7 separate regions of the Homo sapiens genome follow, and regions 2, 3, 4, 5, 6 and 7 are each linked to region 1. The links are contacts of gene promoters, found by promoter capture Hi-C in blood cells and fetal thymus (Javierre and others, 2016). All regions are on one chromosome and are shown on one strand. The core of a region is centred on a gene start or on the middle of the fragment in contact, and the rest is flanking DNA. Distances in the headings are between cores, read along the strand shown. Region 1 holds the start of PTDSS1 (phosphatidylserine synthase 1). Region 2 overlaps MTDH (metadherin). Region 3 overlaps RIDA (reactive intermediate imine deaminase A). Region 4 has its middle 21 kb from the start of MTDH. Region 5 has its middle 4.9 kb from the start of INTS8. Region 6 overlaps INTS8 (integrator complex subunit 8). Region 7 overlaps MTDH (metadherin).

What was found. The method cuts DNA at HindIII sites, captures the fragments that hold promoters and counts their contacts. A CHiCAGO score of 5 or more calls a contact.
Region 2: a contact is called between a fragment that was not itself captured here and the fragment with the promoter of PTDSS1 in region 1, in 4 of 17 cell types (total B cells, naive B cells, M0 macrophages and 1 more). The highest score is 8.1, in total B cells.
Region 3: a contact is called between a fragment that was not itself captured here and the fragment with the promoter of PTDSS1 in region 1, in 1 of 17 cell types (non-activated CD4 T cells). The highest score is 5.9, in non-activated CD4 T cells.
Region 4: a fragment that was not itself captured here is called in contact with the fragment with the promoter of PTDSS1 in region 1 in 5 of 17 cell types (activated CD4 T cells, total CD8 T cells, total B cells and 2 more); the score reaches 9.3 in activated CD4 T cells.
Region 5: a contact is called between a fragment that was not itself captured here and the fragment with the promoter of PTDSS1 in region 1, in 1 of 17 cell types (fetal thymus). The highest score is 6.4, in fetal thymus.
Region 6: a fragment that was not itself captured here is called in contact with the fragment with the promoter of PTDSS1 in region 1 in 1 of 17 cell types (activated CD4 T cells); the score reaches 5.7 in activated CD4 T cells.
Region 7: a fragment that was not itself captured here is called in contact with the fragment with the promoter of PTDSS1 in region 1 in 13 of 17 cell types (activated CD4 T cells, total B cells, total CD4 T cells and 10 more); the score reaches 11.6 in activated CD4 T cells.

Annotation. Positions count from the first base shown.
Region 1 is chr8:96,260,650-96,263,349 of GRCh38, forward strand. It overlaps PTDSS1 (phosphatidylserine synthase 1), which reads left to right and starts at 1,253. Exons shown (of 13, transcript NM_014754.3): 1 at 1,253-1,570. The coding sequence starts at 1,392. It overlaps MTERF3 (mitochondrial transcription termination factor 3), which reads right to left and starts at 961. Exons shown (of 8, transcript NM_015942.5): 1 at 852-961. RefSeq lists enhancers at 1-407, 559-618, 1,101-1,793, 1,939-2,178 and silencers at 782-1,106, 859-1,008, 1,189-1,558, 1,609-1,788. The HindIII fragment of the contact is 8,922 bases long and covers 1-2,700 here.
Region 2 is chr8:97,682,000-97,684,699 of GRCh38, forward strand. The region is part of intron 2 of MTDH (metadherin); the gene reads left to right. Among named protein-coding and RNA genes, the nearest start is that of MTDH, 39 kb to the left of the region's middle. The HindIII fragment of the contact is 5,003 bases long and covers 1-2,700 here.
Region 3 is chr8:98,104,629-98,107,328 of GRCh38, forward strand. It overlaps RIDA (reactive intermediate imine deaminase A), which reads right to left. Exons shown (of 6, transcript NM_005836.3): 3 at 1,644-1,698; 4 at 1,310-1,378. Among named protein-coding and RNA genes, the nearest start is that of RIDA, 11 kb to the right of the region's middle. The HindIII fragment of the contact is 680 bases long and covers 1,066-1,745 here.
Region 4 is chr8:97,621,942-97,624,641 of GRCh38, forward strand. It overlaps the pseudogene RPS2P33. Among named protein-coding and RNA genes, the nearest start is that of MTDH, 21 kb to the right of the region's middle. The HindIII fragment of the contact is 1,632 bases long and covers 537-2,168 here.
Region 5 is chr8:94,816,995-94,819,694 of GRCh38, forward strand. No RefSeq gene overlaps it. Among named protein-coding and RNA genes, the nearest start is that of INTS8, 4.9 kb to the right of the region's middle. The HindIII fragment of the contact is 7,350 bases long and covers 1-2,700 here.
Region 6 is chr8:94,842,578-94,845,277 of GRCh38, forward strand. All of the region lies in intron 10 of INTS8 (integrator complex subunit 8), which reads left to right. Among named protein-coding and RNA genes, the nearest start is that of INTS8, 21 kb to the left of the region's middle. The HindIII fragment of the contact is 2,342 bases long and covers 228-2,569 here.
Region 7 is chr8:97,651,953-97,654,652 of GRCh38, forward strand. All of the region lies in intron 1 of MTDH (metadherin), which reads left to right. Among named protein-coding and RNA genes, the nearest start is that of MTDH, 9.1 kb to the left of the region's middle. The HindIII fragment of the contact is 3,974 bases long and covers 1-2,700 here.

The sequences.
Region 1 (2,700 bases), core at 3-2,502:
ACTCACTTTCAAATTTCACCCCGTCATTAAAAGATCTTTGTGCATACAACTAATGTTTATCCTTGCATTTTTATTTACAAGTGCACTATCTTCTCCACATCCTTTCATTGCTGCCTACACATCTTAACAATTGATTAACTGTTCATGCACGAGAGCAGAGCTGGGTCTCATCCCTGGATCCATCCTTCCGGGGACTATTCTCCACTTTCCCAGAGCCTTGTACTGCTCTAATGTTTGCGGAATGGAAATAAATCAATGGCAAGTACAGTTAACTCACTTGCTTACACAGTATGCAAAAGCGGGTAGGGGATGTGCAGATGTGTATAAAAGCCCTGTAAGGTGGTAACCTGAAGTCTTCTAACAAGGTCCTTTCATCAGGAAAATTACAGAAAACCCTTAAAGAAACTGAAGTCTCTTAACAATTCATATATACTGTTCTCAATGAGTGCCTAGTGCTTCGCTAGAAAAAGGCACTGAAATAGAGTTCAAGATTTCTACCTACGAAATGCTATAAATGAAATCAGGAGAGAAAGGGAGGTTATGGGGGCAGCTTCCTAATAAAGGGTCTCTCAATACTTCCCAGGCCATTTTAGCCCACTTCAGTTCCCCAAACTTGCGCAGGAAGGCAGAGCCCCCTCCTGAGGCTTCTCACACTGCGCTAATTAGCCAGCATGGTTGAGTTTTCACTACATCAGCCAGGGAAAAACACAAAACAAAACCAATCACCCTCTACTGGGCCGCGAAAACCTAAAGGCCCTTGAGGCCCTGGGGCGCGGTCTGGACGCGGGTGCGCCGGAACCTGAACCCTCGCCAGGAGCGCGATCCTCGTGCTGGGGCAGCTCCTGCTTTACCTGTGGCGAGGCCTGCTTCCCGTAGCGGGTGACCCCGGGACCGACCAACTCGCTGGGCCGCACGTCCCGTCCCGCCGCGCCGCACGCCGGCTCCTCAGCCCGCCCTACACAGCGCAGCCGCGCTCCCGGGCCCACGTGGGCCGCGCCCGGAGTGGGCGAGACCATGTGCCGGGTTACGCGGGGAGACAGCGGGCTACGTGCTCTGAAAAGAGCCAGCCAGGGGCCCCGGCTACCCTTCTCCGGCTCGCTATTCCTCTGAAGTCCTGTGGACTTGGAGTCTGAAAATTCCTCGAGTGGTAGAGATGCCTCAGCTAGGATGACAGCGTGGGGACGGCCGGCGGCGTCCCCTGCCCCAGGCCGCGGTGGCGGCGCCGCGACCCCGCCCTCTCGCGCCTGTCCTTCCCTCTGCTCCCAGCCTTTGCTGGGCGCCAGACCCGGCTTTGCCGTCCGGCTATTAGCCTACTGTGGCTAGTCACCCCCGGGGTCCCGGCCTTCTCGGGCTGGGGCCGCCGCCACCGCGGCAGGACGGGGAGGCGGGCCATGGCGTCCTGCGTGGGGAGCCGGACCCTAAGCAAGGATGATGTGAACTACAAAATGCATTTCCGGATGATCAACGAGCAGCAAGTGGAGGACATCACCATTGACTTCTTCTACCGGCCGCATACCATCACCCTGCTCAGCTTCACCATCGTCAGCCTCATGTACTTCGCCTTTACCAGGTGGGGCGGCCCAGCCGAGCGGGGGGCGCGTCCAAGGGCTAGGGAAGAGGCGGGAGGGAGGGTGGCGGGGAGGGGGGCCCGGCATGGCTCTGGGTGAGGAAGTGGGCTGGCTGCTCCACGCACACGCACTGGCAGCCCGCCGCCCACGCGGCCCCTCCGCCCGCCCGGTGTCTCACAGTACGCTAGCCTGCTCCCCTACCCCTCAGTGCCCCTTCTCCATACAGCGCCTCCGGTTACACGGGGAACGCACGCGAGTCACCTAGCACGATCGCCCCCTCACCCACCGCACTCAGCATCGCTCCACACAACATCACGACGCGGGCCCCTCCTCTGCACTGCTCCAGCCTTCGTCCCTACCCAGCACACCGCATGAATCATGTCGTATGCACCACTTTCAGCACACACCGCTACACATACAAAGCACCCCAATCCACAGCGCCTGCAGGCACCATACACAGGCCCAGGACACAACCTAGATCCCTTCCTGTGGAACTCCGGTATTCGGCACTATCCGTAACGCACAAAAAATGCACATGTGTGCTGCATACACGGTCTTTCCTGTGCAGCACTTCCCGTATGCATTGCACACAAGTCATCCAGCATAACACTTCCCCCAGCCTCAAACACTACCATCTGTACCACGGCACAAACTGCCACTCTAAACACACACCTCACAGCGGACCTTTCCTTTCCAGCACAGCCCAATACCCATCATCTGTGTACATGGCTGCACAGACACCAGCCCGCCACACATCACGCGGTGCATACCCTGCTCACTCATTACCTAACATACGTGCTGAAATGTGATCTTGTCCAGCAATTTTAATGGTGCCTGGGGTATAGTAACTGCTGTGTGTTAAATGAAACACATAAACCTCACACAGCATAACACAACTCTCTTATTCCCTGGAAAACATACACACACATTCTAATATATACCGGTTCATAGGAGCTGCCCAGCCCAAATCTTGAACACACCTCATGTTAACTCTGGCACTGCGCCTGTGGCTCCTCATTCCTAACCTAGAGAACTAATTCATCCTTGGTTCATAAGGAGGTACACACCGTGGTTCCTACTTAGAATGATTTATACTTTCTGAATGAACCTCTTTAAAGAAAGGGAAGTCACA
Region 2 (2,700 bases), core at 173-2,672, 1.4 Mb after region 1:
CCTGACAACAAGTTAGGGAAAAAAGAACTGTGGTAACAAGGAAGCCAGAGCTTTATGCTACCAGCTTCCTTCAAAAGTCTTAGCTAAAGTGGAGCTGCTAAGAAGTAAGATGTTTGCTTCAGTAGTATGGCCAGGGCAAATAGCAGTATATATCACATATTTATTTTAAAGTTTTTCATAAGCTATTATTTTATTTAATCTTATCGGGATGGGTGTTCTTGTTAATTACTTTATATATATATATATATATATATATATATATATATATATATATATATATATTTTTTTTTTTTTTTTTTTTTTTTTTTTTTTTTTTTGAGATGGAGTCTTGCCCTGTCGCCCAGGCTGGAGTGTAATGGTGTGGTCTTGGCTCACTGCAACCTCCGCCTCCCAGGTTCAAGCGATTCTCCTGCCTCAGCCTCCCGAGTAGCTGGGATTATAGGCGCCCGCCACCACGCCTGGCTAATTTTTATTATTTTTAGTAGAGACAGGGTTTCACCATGTTGGCCAAGGCTGGTTTCAAATTCCTGACCTCAGGTGATCTGCCTGCCTTGGCCTCCCAAAGTGCTGGGATCACAGGCGTGAGCCACCGCACCTGGCCTTTTGTTAATTACTTTTAAAGGCAGTAGTAATATCAAATAATATTTAAGCCTAATCTAAGATAATCTTTTTCTACAGATTTTTAGTTACAAATCCCCAGATATTTCCTTGTAAACATAATTTCTATTATTTTTTCAAAGTCTCCCTTCTTAAAAAAAAATCTTATTTATATATACTACTTTGTCGTTAACAGACTCTTTTCACCTTTTGTTTTAATTCTTAAAATAACCTTATATGAGGTTAGTAGGAATTTTTGTCCATATGACGGGTGGGGAACAGGGTTTAGAATGATTTAGCCCAAAGTCACATAGCTAATGTATGATTAAATTTGTATTTAGAGTTAAATGTGGGGAGACTAAATAAGAGGTTATTTGCAAGGGTAAAGTGGATCAGAACTGGAATTTAGTCCTAGTTTCACCACTTTACCCTATGATGCTCTTAGACACTTTTTTTTTTTTTTTTTTTTTTTTTTTTTTTTTTTTTGAGATGGAGTCTCTCTCTGTCACCCAGGCTGGAGTGCAGTGGAGCGATCTCAGCTCACTGCAACCTCTGCCTCCCAGATTCAAGCGATTCTACTGCCTCAGCCTCCCGAGTAGCTGGGACTACAGGCACGTGCCACCACACCTGGCTAATTTTTTGTATTTTTAGTAGAGATGGGTTTCACCATGTTAGCCAGGATGGTCTCGATCTCCTAAGCTCAGGATCTGCCCGCCTCAGCCTCCCAAAGTGCTGGGGTTACAGGCGTGAGCCACCACGCCCAGCCTCTTAGACACTTTTCTTTGTTTTTTGTTTGTTTGTTTTTTGGAGTTTTTTTGAGACAGGGTCTCACCCCGTTACCCAGGCTGGAATACAGTGACATGATCACAGCTCACTTCAGCCTCAACCTCCCAGGCTTGAGTGATCCTCCCACCTCAGCCTCCCAAGTAGCTGGAACCACAGTTGCATGCCGCCACCCCCACTGATTTTTTTTTTTTAAGAGAGAGAATCTCCCTGTGTGTTGCCCTGGCTGGTCTCATACTCCTGAGCTCAAGTGATCCTCCCACCTCAACCTTCCAAATTGCTGGGATTACAGGTGTAAACCACCGCACTCAGCAATCTTAAACACTTTTTATGGCCTCAGTTTCTATGTGTAAAATGGGGATACCTACTTTAGTTCCTGTGGACCTGCACTGTCCAGTATAGTGGCCACTTGCCACGTGTGGATATTGAGCACTTAAAATGTGACTAGTCCGGCCGGGCGCTGTGGTCACGCCTGTAATCCCAGCATTTTGGGAGGCCGAGGCGGGTGGATCACCTGAGGTTGGAAGTTTGAGACCACTCTGACCAACATGGAAAAACCCCATCTCTACTAAAAATACAAAATTAGCTGGGCATGGTAGCGCATGCCTGTAATCCCAGCTTCTCAGGAGGCTGAGGCAGGAGAATCGCTTGAACCCAGGAGGCAGGAGAATCGCTTGAACCCAGGCGGCAGAGGTTGCGGTGAACTGAGATCGCGCCATTGCACTCCAGCCTGGGCAACAAGAGTGAAAAACTCCTTCTCAAAAAAAAAAAAAAAACGACTAGTCCAAATTGAGATTGCTGTTAAGTGTAAAATACATGCCAGATTTCGAAGACTTACTTTGTTTTCTTTTACATACTATCTTATTGTGTTGCTTTTTTTATATGAGTTCCATGTTGAAATGACAGTATTATAGATACGTTGTGTTAAAATTGTCACCTATTTTAACTTAAAAATGTGTCTACTAGAAATTTTTAAAAATATATATGTGGTTTGCATTATATTTCTGTTGGCCAGCACTGCTCTAGACCAAGGATAGCAAACTCTGACACCCCAAATCCAGACAGATGCCTGTTTTTGTAAATAAAATTTTATTGGAACATAGTCACACCCCTTTGTTTATAAATTGTATGTGGCTGCTTTCATGCTATATGAGCAGAGTTCTGTGGTTGCTCCAAAACCCTGTGGCTTGCAAAGCCTAACATATTTACTATTTGATCCTTTGCAGAAAAAGTTTGCTGCCTCTGCTCAACTGTAGTTGACAGATGTTCAATATGTTACCTTTACTTAAGAGCGGCTATGGTAAAGACAAAGACAGAAAG
Region 3 (2,700 bases), core at 156-2,655, 1.8 Mb after region 1:
ATATTCTATTGTTATTCAATATCTACAATTAATAATCTGGCAAATATTTCATATACTAGTCAGTTCTTAGATATAAGCAACATTTATTTTTATTTTTTTGAAACAGAGTCTTGCTCTATCGCCCAAGGCTGGAGTGAAGTGATGCGATCTCAGCTTACTGCAACCTCTGTCTCCCATGTTCAAGAGATTCTCCTGCCTCAGCCTCCCGAGTAGCTGGGATTACAGGTGTGCACCACCATGCCTGGCTCATTTTTGTATTTTTAGTAGAGTCGGGGCTTCACCATGTTGGCCAGACTGGTCTCAAACTCCTAATGTCAAGTGATCCACCCACCTCAGCCTCTCAAAGTGCTGGGATTATAGGTGTGAGCCACTGCTCCTGGCCTTAAGCAACATTTTAAAAAAGAGGCTCACTATCAGATTTGTTTGATAAAATATTTTGCCATATGATTCCTATGATAGTTAATACTTTTTAAAATCTCTTAGCTTTCTGGCAAAAAAAAAAAAAAAAAAAAAAAAGAAATACATACCCTAACATTTTGATCTTGTTTGATGTGAATGGAGTTTTGTTTTTAAAGTGATATTTATAAACTATTTATCTAAATAGGGAACAAGTGCCCATCTCCAGAAATTTTGGCAAGTACTTCCTCTGCCAACTTTGGTCTTTTCTAATAATTTCTTCAGGAGAGAATAAGTAACGATGCTTTTTCCAAGTTATACCTTTGCCTCATCCCATTAGGTGTTGGGGACACCAATTTTCCCTACTATAACATCAATGTTAATAATAGCTAACATTTACTCAGTGCTTATAACACACCAGCATCTAAGTGCTTTACATGTTGTACTGACTCATTTAATCATTCCAACAACCCTATAAGTTAGGAGTATATTATCTCCATTTTGCATATGAGAAAACCAAGGCATAGAAATATTAAGTAACTAACTAATGAGTCTGAGAGAGCCAGGATAAAGATGGTGGCTGCACCATACAGCCACAGTAAATAAAATCTATGCATAAAAAACTTGTTAGGAGAGTTTAAAAAGCCTGAGAAGGATTTAATGAAATTAAGCTTTTGAAAAATGGATATGTAGGATTTCAGTATATTGTTTTAGGGAATGCAATAGAAATGTCTTAGAACTTTTTCATGGGGGGTATACAACATATTTCCAATCAGATTATTAATTCTTTTAAGATCTATGACCATTTCTTTAGCATCTCCTACCACTCTTAATTCATAATGCACATTCATTAATGTGACCAGATTTCTTTCTTTTTAAAAATGGAAAATAGGAATAAAGCCAAATTACTTACACTGTTTGTAGATTTCATTGACAGTATTGAAGTCATTTATGTCAGCCAGAAGAACAGTTGTTTTCACCACTAGAAGATATAAACATTGTCATTAGGTTTAGTTATTTGGTCTGACCCAAAACATTACTTAGAAAAAGAGTGTATGAATCTGAGACTGTCTTGATTAAAATGGGACTGAAATGGGACCAAAGAAGTGAAGTAGAACAGTTGCTATTTAAAACAACTTTTAAATAGCAACAAAGATATGGCACGGCATCTTACTGGATGCCATATATTTTTCAAAAAGACCAAAGAAATATCAAAAAGAAATGTGAAATAATATCAAATTGCTCACCGTTAGTGAAGTCACAGCCTGCAGCTTTCAGAATTTCACCCATGTTTTTAAGAGCCTGTGAACCAAGCCAAGAAAGGCCTAAGTCACTGATGTTAGATTTAAAGCTTTAATTAAATTCAATTAATCATCTTTTACTAATACCTCCTTAAATAGCCTATGTTGCAGAAAAATCCTCCCTACTCGCTTACAAGTGTGTTTCTTGGCTTTCCTTTAATAGAATGAGTCTTTCTGATATATGGTGAAAATGTTGTCTCCTTTTGTGCGTAAAAAGACTAGGTTGAAGTTCCTTCTTCAGTGCTAAAATGTGTTAATTGTTCAGCCAATGTCCACAGAAATAATTTCTGGTGTTCTTCATTCGATATCACGTCAAGGATAAGGATGAGCTAGTAAGCATTAAAACATATTTTCTTTTAAAGCAATATTTGACTTCAAAGGGTTCTTTTTCCTTTTTCTCAAAAAAACAATATTAGTAAATTATATAACAGTTGGAGACACTGGCTTCTGGAAAAACATTTATCTTTTTTTGGATTCACTCTTCCCACTTTGCTGGTCACAATGCAATATTTCATTATATTCTTGTGTCTTTTAAAATAATCTTCTAAATAGGTAATACATGGATATGGCAACAACAACAACAAAAAAACTCAAAAGCTATTAAAAAAGCATATACCGTGTAAAGATATCTCTCACCCCTCTCTCCCTCTCCCAAGTTTCCCTCCTCAGAGGTAACCACTGTTCCTAATTTATTGTATATCCTTCTAGGTACAGTCAATGCTTATGTTACATATTTTTAAACACACAAGCACACATGGTAGCATACTGTGCATGTTGTTCTGCATCTTGGTTTTATTACCATGGAACAATTTACCTCGGAGATCTTTCCACATTACTTTAGTTGTATTGATCTAGCATAATTTATTCAACCAGTTCTTTATGAGTGGATATTTAGGTTTTTAAAAATCTTTCAGCTAGGCCGGGTGTGGAGGCTCATGCCTGTAATCTCAGCACTTTGGGAGGCTGAGGTGGGTGGATCATGAGGTCAGGAGATCGAGACCAT
Region 4 (2,700 bases), core at 103-2,602, 1.4 Mb after region 1:
GGAGTCCAACTGTCCTGGATAATATGTGGTGAGTTTAGAAAGGTTATCCTAGGAGAACACTCATTGTAAGCACTACAAAGACAGAATAAAATCACCTTACTGAGGAAATTCTCTGACTGTAATGATATTACCTGTGAAAGCAAGAAGCAAGCCAATGAGAACACCTTGGTGTGAGCCCCTTGGCTTACCCATAGTTAATAATATTACTGGGGCCAGGTGCAGTGGCTCACACCTGTAATCCCAGCACTTTGTGAGGCTGAGGTGGGTGGATTGCTTGAGGTCAGGAGTTGGAGACCAGCCTGATCAACATGGTGAAATCCTGTCTCTACTAAAAATACAAAATTAGCCAGGCGTGGTGGTGCATGCCTGTAATCCCAGCTACTTGGGAGGCTGAGGCAGGAGAATCACTTGAACCCAGGAGATGGAGGTTGCAGTGAGCCAAGATCGCGCCATTGCACTCCAGCCTGGGCAACAAGAGCCAAACTCTGTCTCAAAAATAATAATAATAATAATATTACCTGCCATTCAGGTAATCAAGCTTGAATCCTTCTCTGTTCTCATATCCAATCAACAACCAAACTTTGGTTCTTTCTTTCACAGAGCTCATCTCTACCCTTCCTATCCCATTCTCACAGCCACCATCACACAATCCAGCCTTTATTCCTTCCCACGAAATGCCTTCTAATTATGGAAACATTTAAAAATTCAAAATCTAAGTGTGACAGGCATCTCTCTCTTGATTATTACAAAATTTAATTTAAATAAAAGGTTTGTTTTGCTTTTTTAAGGCGGTATCTATTTTGTCTTCAGCAGCTCCCTAAAGAACTAATACAGTACCTTTATGTGGAAATACTATCTTAAGAGAGTTCTGCAGTTCTCTTTGCAATGCCCAATCTTTGGTCTCCTGCTGGAATACCAGTCCTTCCAATGTCCATCCGCTGTCCCTTCTAAAGCGTCAGAGCAGACTCAGGCTGCCCTCGCAGTTGCTCTCAGAATGACCAGCTCAGCCTCTCCAGCCAGGGTCAGAACACCCGAACAAGACCTGCACAGCCAATCAGCTGTTTCTTCTGGCTCCCTTTCAGTCCCAATCCTTAGTCTGTTTAAAGGACTGAAAGTTAAATTTGAGCCAAAGAAATAGCTAGAAGGTGACAACAGCTAAGTCCCCAAGGCTTTAAATAGAGTAAGACGTGTAAGGAGAAGCCTCCCCGGAGGCACCTACCCAATGAAAGGGATCTCTCAGGAAAATCACTCTCTGTGCATCACTCATGCGTGCACTGGAGTCAAAGGCCAGGGCACAGCCAATTTAAGAAAAGGATGGAGGCAGCAGTGTCTGGCTTTGCTAGGAGACAGATTACTGTCATTATAATGCACGAGAAACATTCCATTTGTTAAGCCAGAGAAAAAGATATTTCACACAAAAAATAAGAGGAATGTATCTATTGGTCAATTATTTCATCTTACTCCAAGAATTACTGAATTTCAGATAAATGATTCTTCATCATAGAAGATATTAGTTGCCAAAGAGTCCTCTAAAGACAAGGCCGGGCAGGCCCTTCAATGTGTGAAATACAAATGTATAAAATGAAGTTAACAGGCAAGTGCACTCCCACCTAAAGACATTCAGATTTTAAGATATTTGAAAACATTGATCTGGTCATACAAAACCAAAACACAGCTGTATGCAAATCTGGCACACAGATGCTGGCTCTCCTCTCTGGCTCTCAGGTTAAGCAAAGAGATTATTAAAATAATCAAAGATCCGGAAATGTTTTTATTTTTTTCTTAACTACATGGTTTAATTTTAGACAGCATGGGTTGACTCCCTGCTATGAAAGATGAAGTGATTACACTCTTAACAATTTCTCCTACCTACATTTTCCTCCATTTCTCTTCTCATTAATTATAATATATTTTACTTTGCCAGGTTATAAGCCATCACATCATGTTCTGTAATTATGATACCCCTAGTTACTTAGTTTTTGTTCTATTTTTAAAAGCGTCTAATGCTCATTTCCAGTTCTTTTACCACTCCTACATTCTTGATTTTGATTCATTTCTTTGGCTGGATTTCAATGTCCAATGGTTTTGTTCATGAAAGGCTTACTTCTATATCTTTTACACACTAGATTCTAAGTACTACTTTCCCTCTGTCTTTTCATATTTGAGAAAGCTTGCTTGTTGACTTTATAACTGAACAGTTTTGTTGGACTACACTTTTTTTAAACAGGCTTAATTCGCTTTATTTTACTTGTATAAAAACCTTATGTTGTAGCCACAGCTGGAGCCTGGGTCCTCTGCACGTAGACTCTGGCGTGGGTCTTGACAAGGTGGTCAGTGAATTCCTGATAGGGAGACTTGGTGAATACAGTCTCCTTCCAGAGGTCGGGGGTCAGGTAGCTGTAGGTCTTGGAGATGGCATCAAAGGTGGCCTTGGCGAAGTTGCCCAGGGTGGCATTGCAGCTCCCAGCTGAGGTGTGGCAGTCATGGATACCGGCCATCATCAGCAGCTTCTTAGCTACTGGGGTCGAGGCGATGCCAGCGCCCCGGGTGCAGGGATGAGGTGCACCAGCACAGAGCCGCAGCGGCCTGTCACCTTGCAAGGGACCGTGTGGGGCTTGCCGAACTTGTTTCCCCAGTAGCCTCTGCGCACGGGGACAGTGGAGACGTTGGCCAGGATCATGGCCCCTCGGATGGCAGTGG
Region 5 (2,700 bases), core at 42-2,541, 1.4 Mb before region 1:
GCACTCCAGCCTGGGCAACAGAGAGATACCATCACAAAACAAACAAACAAAAACCAGAACGGGGTGCGGTGGCTCACGTCTGTAATCCCAGCACTTTGGGAGGCTGAGGCGGGTAGATCACCTGAGGTCAGGAGTTCGAGACCAGCCCGGTCGACATAGTGTAACCTGTCTCTACTAAAAATACAAAAATTAGCCAGGCATGGTGGCGTGCCTGTAATCCCAGCTACTCTGGAGGCTGAGGTAGGAGAATCACTTGAACCTGGGAGGTGGAGGTTGCAGCGAGCCAAGAGCGCACCATTGCACTCCAGCCTGGGCAACAGAGCAAGACTCTGTCTCAAAAAAAAAAAATACAGATAAAGTTGAAGTACCTGTGACCCCCCTCCCCCACTCCTTCCCCCCATTCACCTCTCCTCTCCCCTTCTCTAACCCACCCCTGTTCTATCCTCCTTCCCTCTTCTCTTCAGAGCCAAACACAGTAGGATTTTGATGTGCATGCCTCAATAAAATAGTTTCTCAGATTTTTTAGTCTCAGGGCCCTGTTAGACCAAAAAATTATTAAGCACTTAAAAGAGTGTTTGTTTATATTTACCATATTAAAAATTAACACTGAGAAGTTTTAAAAATATTTAATTTATTTAAATTAAAATAAAATAATCATATAAAAATAAAAATAATCCTATTACATGCTGACAAATACAATTTTATATAAAATAACTATTTTCATTTTAAAAACTAGAAGAGTGGCATTGCTCACATAGATGAGTAGTTAAAAAAAGAAGTATTTTATATCTTTTCGGATAATTATGGACTTTCTTCACCAAAACCTGAGAAAGTGGTTGTTTCTTAAAGATTAGCTGCAATTTTAAATCTGAAATCATACCAATTAACTTTTCAAATTCCGTTCCATTACAATTCATCAGTCTGTCTTGAAATTTTTTGTTTTGTTTTGTTTTGAGATGGAGTCTTGCTCTGTCGCCCAGGCTGGAGTACAGTGATGCGATTTCTGCTCACTGCAACCTCTGCCTCCCGGGTTCAAGCTATTCTCCTGCTTCAGACTCCTGAGTAGCTAGGATTACAGGCACCTGCCACCATGCCAGCTAATTTTTGTATTTTTAATAGAGACAGGGTTTGATCACGTTGGCCAGGCTGGTCCAAACTCCTGACCTCGTCATCCTCCCACCTCGGCCTCCCAAAGTGCTGGGATTACAGGCATGAGCCACCGTGCCCAGCTGAAATTTTTTATTTATTTACTTTTAAGAGGCAGGGTCTCGCTCTGTCACCCAGACTGGAGTACAGTGGCATGATCATAGCTCGCTGCAGTCTCCAACTCCTGGTTTCAAGTGATCATCCTGCCCCTGCCTCCCAAAGTGTTGGGATTACAGGCATGAGCCACTGTGCTCGGCTTGTCTTGGAATTTAAATAAATCTTTTAGCCATATATTAGGAAAATATTGATTGATTTGTCAAGTTGTGATGATCATCTGAAAGTTGACACATTTAAATATACATTTGTTAATATCGCCATTGGTGTCATCAGAAAAGTCTTGTCAAGTATTGGGAAGCTGCCAAGTTTACAGTTTTCTAAAATTCTAATTTTACTTAAAAAGTTGAATGTTGGCCAGGAGCGGTGGCTCATGTCTGTAATCCCAGCACTTTGGGAGGCCAAGGTGGGAGGATCACTTGAGGTCAGGAGTTCAAGACCAGTCTGGCCAACATGGTGAAACCCCATCTCTACTAAAAATAGAAAAATTAGCCAGGTGTGGTGGTGGCAGTGCCTGTAATCCCAGCTATTCGGGAGGCTGAGGCAGGAGAATCGCTTGAACCTGAGAGGTGGAGGTTGCAGTGAGCGGTGATAGCACCATTGCACTCCAGCCTGGGCAGCAAGAGCAAAACTCCATCTCAAAAAAAAAAAAAAAAAATTGAATGTTATTATTCGCCACAAATGGTGTTAGTTGTTTTCCATAAAGTGACATGACAGGCTCACTTTGTTCAAGAAAATGTCTGCTAAATACCCAAGTCTGAATGACCACAGTCTGTTCTCATTCTTTCTTTCTTTTCTTTTTTTTTTTTTTTTTGAGACAGGGTCTCACTCTGTCACCCACCTGAGTGCAGTGGTGCAATCTCGGCTCACTGTAGCCTCATCCTCTTGGGCTCAAGCAATCCTCCCACCTCAGTTTCCCACATAGCCAGGACTACAGACGCACACCACCATCCCAGCCTTATTTTTTATTTTGATTTTTTTGTAGAGACAGAAGTCTCACTATGCTGCCCAGATACGTCTTGAATTCCTGGACTCTCCACCTCAGCCTCCCAAAGTGCTGGGATTACAGGCGTGAGCCACTGCACTCGGCCAGTTTCTGTTGTTTTAAACCACAAAGTTTGTGGTAATTTGTTACAGCAGCCACTTGAAACAGATACAATGAGTATGTCACATTTTATTTGTCTATTCACCAGGTTATAGACCTTGGTTTCTACTTTTAGGCTACTGTAGATACTGCTGTTCTAAACATTCAAGTCTTTGTGTGGGTACATTTTCTCCTTTCTCTTGGATACATACCTAGAAGGGGAATTGCTGAGTCATCTGGTAAGCCTATTTTTAACATTTTTTTTTTTTTGAGACAGAGTTTCATTCTTGTCGCCTAAGCTGGAGTGCAATGGCGCGATCTCGGCTCACCGCAACCTCTGCCTCCCGGGTTCAAGC
Region 6 (2,700 bases), core at 149-2,648, 1.4 Mb before region 1:
CCTGTCTGCCTTGCGTTTCTGTGCCTGACAATTGGCACTTTTGACAGACTATGCCCTTCCGCCTGGTCTTCTGCTGTAGCTCTTTTTCTAGTTCGCTCCATGTTTCTTCAGCATCTTTATTGGATTCTCCTTAGTCCTTCATTGACTTCTCTATTGCTCTTCCTTTAGTATTTCTGTTCATAGAACTTTTGTCCTTGGCTCACTCATCATTTTTTATTTACTTCCAAAGCTTCACTCATCTGTTTCATCACCTGTTTACTAAGAACTCCCAAATCAAGCCTCTTGTCTGTCATGTGTGCTGTGGAATCTGTGTTTCTACTGGATCACTCTACTTCTTTCTTAACAGTCTTAATGTTAGAGACATTGAGAGAAGTACATAAAGCACAGATAATACCACTTACTTCCAAAAATACAACGTTGCCAGCACTCTAGAAGCCTTTGTTGTGGTCTTTACAACCTCCTCTACCTTCCCTTGAGGTAGCTACTGCCCTGGCTTTTGTGATCATAATTTTCTTGCTTTCTTTTATATTTGTATCACCTCTGTATGTATCCTTAAAGAACATTCTTTAATTTGCCTATTTTGAACTTCATATAAATGGAATCATACAATGTGTATTCATCATCTTCTTTCACTAAAGAGATTTATTTGTGAGATTTATTCAAGTTGTATATAAATAACAATTTTTTTCATTGCTTTAAGGTGTTAGAGCCTGGGTGCAGTGGCTCACACCTGTAATCTCAGCACTTTGGGAGGCCAAGGCGAGTGGATCACAAGGTCAGGAGTTCAAGACCAGCCTGGTAAACATAGTGAAACTCCGTCTCTACTAAAAATACAAAAAATTAGCCGAGCGTGCTGGCAAGTGCCTGTAATCCCAGCTACTTGGGAGGCTGAGGCAGGAGAATCGCTTGAAACTAGGAGGCAGAGGTTTCAATGAGTGGAGATTACGCCACTGCACTCCAGCCTGGGCAACAGTGAGAGACTCCATCTCAAAAAAAAAAAAGTTAGAATATTATATGGACCACGCCACAATTTCTTCAGTCTTATGATGGGGGACATTTGTGTGTTTTATAGTTTTTGGCTGTATACACATATGATGGAGGGACATTTGTGTTGTTTATAGTTTTTGCCGCTTGGAACATACTTGTACATATATCTAGGTGTGCATACGTACCAGTTTATGTTACATACCTAGGGAATAATATATCTGCAACATTAATTTTTAAAAACCAAGTGGCTTATAACCACCAGCATGCCTGAGTGTTCTCATCAGTCAACATCCTTGTTAACATTTGATATTGTCAGATCGCCTGTGAGGTGGTTGTATAACAGTACCTCATTGAGGTTTTCATTTCTACAACTCTTCATTTAATTTTTACTCATGGATTTTGTTTTTTGAGGTACCTTTTCCAAGTGTTATGCCTCTTTTTTTTTTTGAGATAGAGTTCTGCTTTTTTTTTTTTATTTTTTTATTTTTTGAGATGGGGCCCCCTCTGTTGCCTGGCCAGGCTTTAGTGCAGTGGCGTGATCTCGGCTCACTGCAACCTCCGCCTCCCAGGTTCAAGCGATTCTCCTGCCTCAGCCTCCTGAGTAGCTAGGACTACGGGCGTGCGCTACCACGCCTGGCTAATTTTTGTATTTTTAGTAGAGACAGGGTTTTGCCATGTTGGCCTGGCTGGGCTCAAACTCCTGACCTCAGGTTATCTGCCTGCCTTGGCCTTCCAAAGTGATAGGATTACAGGTGTGAGCCACCGTGCCTGGCCAGAGTTCTGCTCTTGTTGCCCAGGCTGGAGTGCAGTGGTACAATTTCAGCTCACTGCAACCTCCACCTCCCAGTTTCAAGTGATTCTCCGGCCTCAGCCTCCGGAGTAGCTGGGATTACAGGTGCCCACCACCACGCCCTGCTAATTTTTGTATTTTTAGTAGCGACGGGGTTTTGCCATTTTGGCCAGGCTGGTCTTGAACTCCTGACCTCAAGTGATCCACCCACTTTAGCCTCCCAAAGTCCTGGGATTACAGGCATGAGCCGTGCCCGGCCATGTTATGTCTCATTTTTCTATTATATTGTCTGTTCTTTGGAAGGAGCTTTCTTTTTTGTAGGAGATCTATATATATTCTCTTTTTTACCAATTTTAAATATTGCAGATATCTTCACTGAGTTTGACTTTTAGTTTTTCTTTTTTTTTTTTTTTTGTTTGAGACGGGTCTCACTCTATCACCCAGTTGGAGTGCAGTGCTGTGATCTCAGTTCACTGTAACCTCCACCTCCTGGGTTCAAGCCATCCTCCCACCTCAGCCTCCTGAGTAGCTGGGACTACAGGCATGTGCCACCACGCCTGGCTAATTTTTTTTATTTTTGGTAAAGATGGGGTTTTGTCACGTTGTCCAGGCTGGGCTCGAACTGTTGAGCTCAGGTGATCCACTCACCTTGGCTTCCCAAAGTGCTGTGATTACAGGCATGAGCCACCACGCCCAGCTTAGTTTTCTTTATATTGTTCCAAAGCTCCTAAATTTAATATCAAATTTACCGATTTTTTTCCGTTGTAGTGATTTCTGTGTGTTGTTTAAGAAAGCTTTTTCCTATTGTGTCATGAAGATATTCTTCTATTATTATCTTCTAAAAGCTTTATAGCATAGCCTTCCTTTCACGTTTAGGTCTTTGATCAACCTACAGTTGATTTTTGTGTGAAGCAGGAAGTGTG
Region 7 (2,700 bases), core at 93-2,592, 1.4 Mb after region 1:
CTTTTTCTCACCTCTTCATATCTTCCTCACCTTATATCTAACCCATCAGCAAAGTACCATCAATTTTATCTCCAAAATATATATTCAATCTGACTACTTTTTCTAGTGTCACCTTAGCTCCCCTAACCTGCAGCAGTAGCCTTCCTTTTACTGCATCCAGTCCTTTCTCAACGCACTAGTAATGAGTTTTTTCAAAGCAAATCACTATGCTGCCTAAAACCAACACTTAGTAGCTTTTGCATTTAAAATCTAAATCTCTTTCCATGGCCCGTATGGCCCAGCACCTGCTTTTCATTCTAAGCTGAATTTGTGTGAGTTTCCTGTCATTTGCTGTTCAGTTCTTGAAACTCTTTCACAACCCAGCGCCTTTACATGAGCTATTATTAACACTTTTGGAACAATCTTTCCCCCACTATTCTCCTCAGCCTTTAGTTTTCACCTTAAAAGTCACCTTCCCCGAAAATCCTTTCCTGATCACCCTATGTGAAATAGACATCCCTTTCTATTTTCTGTCTCAACCCCTTAGATGTTTCCTTCATAGTGGTTATTACAGTTTGTACATTATTTGTTTACTTACCCATTTACTTTTTTGGGTTCTCTCCCTCCCCAGATTGTAAACCGGTGGCAAACTGCCTGGCGTATAAGTGCCTTTGGTAATTATTTGTTGAACTAAAAGCTGAACAAAGTGACTAAAATAACATCTCACAGTTAATTGGATAATCTGTTATTGAGTTAAATAAATTTATCTCTTAATATATTCCCAGTAGAATTGTGTTTTTTTATTCTTAGGTAATAGTTTTGCTGGTAATATTAAAAAAGTTATATCACTTGCCACCTATAGAGTTTTCTTTTTACCTTTAAGTCACTCTTTGTCAGTTTTAATTCTTAAGAGAATAATCAGCCAGGTGCGGTGGTTCACACCTGTAATCCCAGTACTTCGGGCGGACCACCAGGTCAGGAGATTGAGACCATCCTGGCCAACATGGTGAAACCCCATCTCTACTAAAACTACAAAAATCAGCCAGGCATGGTGGCGTGCACCTATAGTCCCAGCTACTCAGGAGGCTGAGACAGGGGAATCGCTTGAACCCGGGAGGCGGAGGTTGCAGTGAGCCGAGATCGCACCACTGTACTCTAGCCTGGCGACAGAGCGAGACTCTGTCTCAAAAAAAGAAAAAAAAAAAAAGAATAATCATTTGCTCAAAAAAATCCAAATTATAAGTAAAACAAATATTCATGATTTTACAGAAGAGAAATCTTGAGATTCAGAAAAATTAACTGACTTATTCAAGGTCATAGGACAAAGGAGTTTAAAAGGCAAAACAATATCCTAATTTCTAGTCTAAGAACTTTGTTATTTCCACTCTACCTCTCTGGTTTCGATGGCATGTTCCAGGATATTAAATTGCATTCAGAGAACAAATAGAGTTTTCCCAGTGAGTTATGGCTTTATTGCTTTTAAAATTTCGAGTCAGAAGTTTCTGCTGAAAATTATAATGACCTTACAAAAGCTCCAGAATTTTGGCTCCATTTGTTTGGTTATGTGACAGGATTTTTTCATCTTTTCTTTTCATTCTGCCAGAGGCCTAACGTAAAAGACCTTTAACAGTTCTGACAGAAAAGACCTTTAGTAGTTGTGCCCATCTTAGATACCAAGAACAACAATAAACCCTATGAACATTCATTTTTGTTGTGCTTTGGCATTACTGGTTAGTGTACTATTTCTCAAGGCTGTAAAAGCCTTGAGAGTATTTTTAAATTATTATTCAAGCAAAATTCAGAGATATAAGTGAGGAATTGGTGTTATTTGATCAGTTTTAAAATGCACTTGTTTTTCTCTCCAGCTATGCTAGTAGTTTTCAAACTGCTCCATGGAATGCCAGGCTTCCCAGAAGGCATCCGTCAGAATGTCTTAGACATTTTTCTTCTAAGAAAGAATTATACAGATGTGTATTTGCTGTATCATTTGTAGTCCTTATCATACCCATCAGATGTAAAATATTGAAAACCAATGCTTGTATTTAGTTTTTCAGAAATCATCTTTGGCATATCTTGGCCATGTGACAGTTATTACCATCTCCCCATCTCATAAAGGTAACCCTGAGCATCCCTGCTGTAGTCAACAAGGAGACAGTTTGGAATCCTGAGTTGAATTTTTGGCTGTTTAGAAAGCACAGGGATCTTTACCACTAAAGGAAATATCTCAGTATATAGTGAGATTTTGCAAATTTGAACCATAGGTTATATTTGTAAGATTGTTCTCTCAGTTATTAAGAGTTTGAAATTGGGGTTGAACTGTGTCTAAAGCTATGGTTTATGTGTATGTTTAGTTTATGTAGTTGCTGTGTGCATAACATTTGGCAGGGGAAAATGTTTTTACTTTCAAACAAACTGACAAGAAATTGTTCCATCTTGAATTTGTGTAAGAACGTTTCAGAACTAAAACAAACTTACCAAAACTAGGTCTTGTCCATTAAATGAGATAATGCGTGTAATGTGTCTAGCAAGTACTTGGAAATTATTATTGTTAAGACTGTCTTATAGTCTAACTTATCAACTACAATGATGCCTCTTCTGAATTTCCTAATTTCTTGCCTTTATCTTTTTTTTTTTTTAATTATACTTTAAGTTCTGGGATACATGTGCGGAATGTGCAGGTTTGTTACATAGGTATACATGTGCCATGGTGATTTGCTGCAC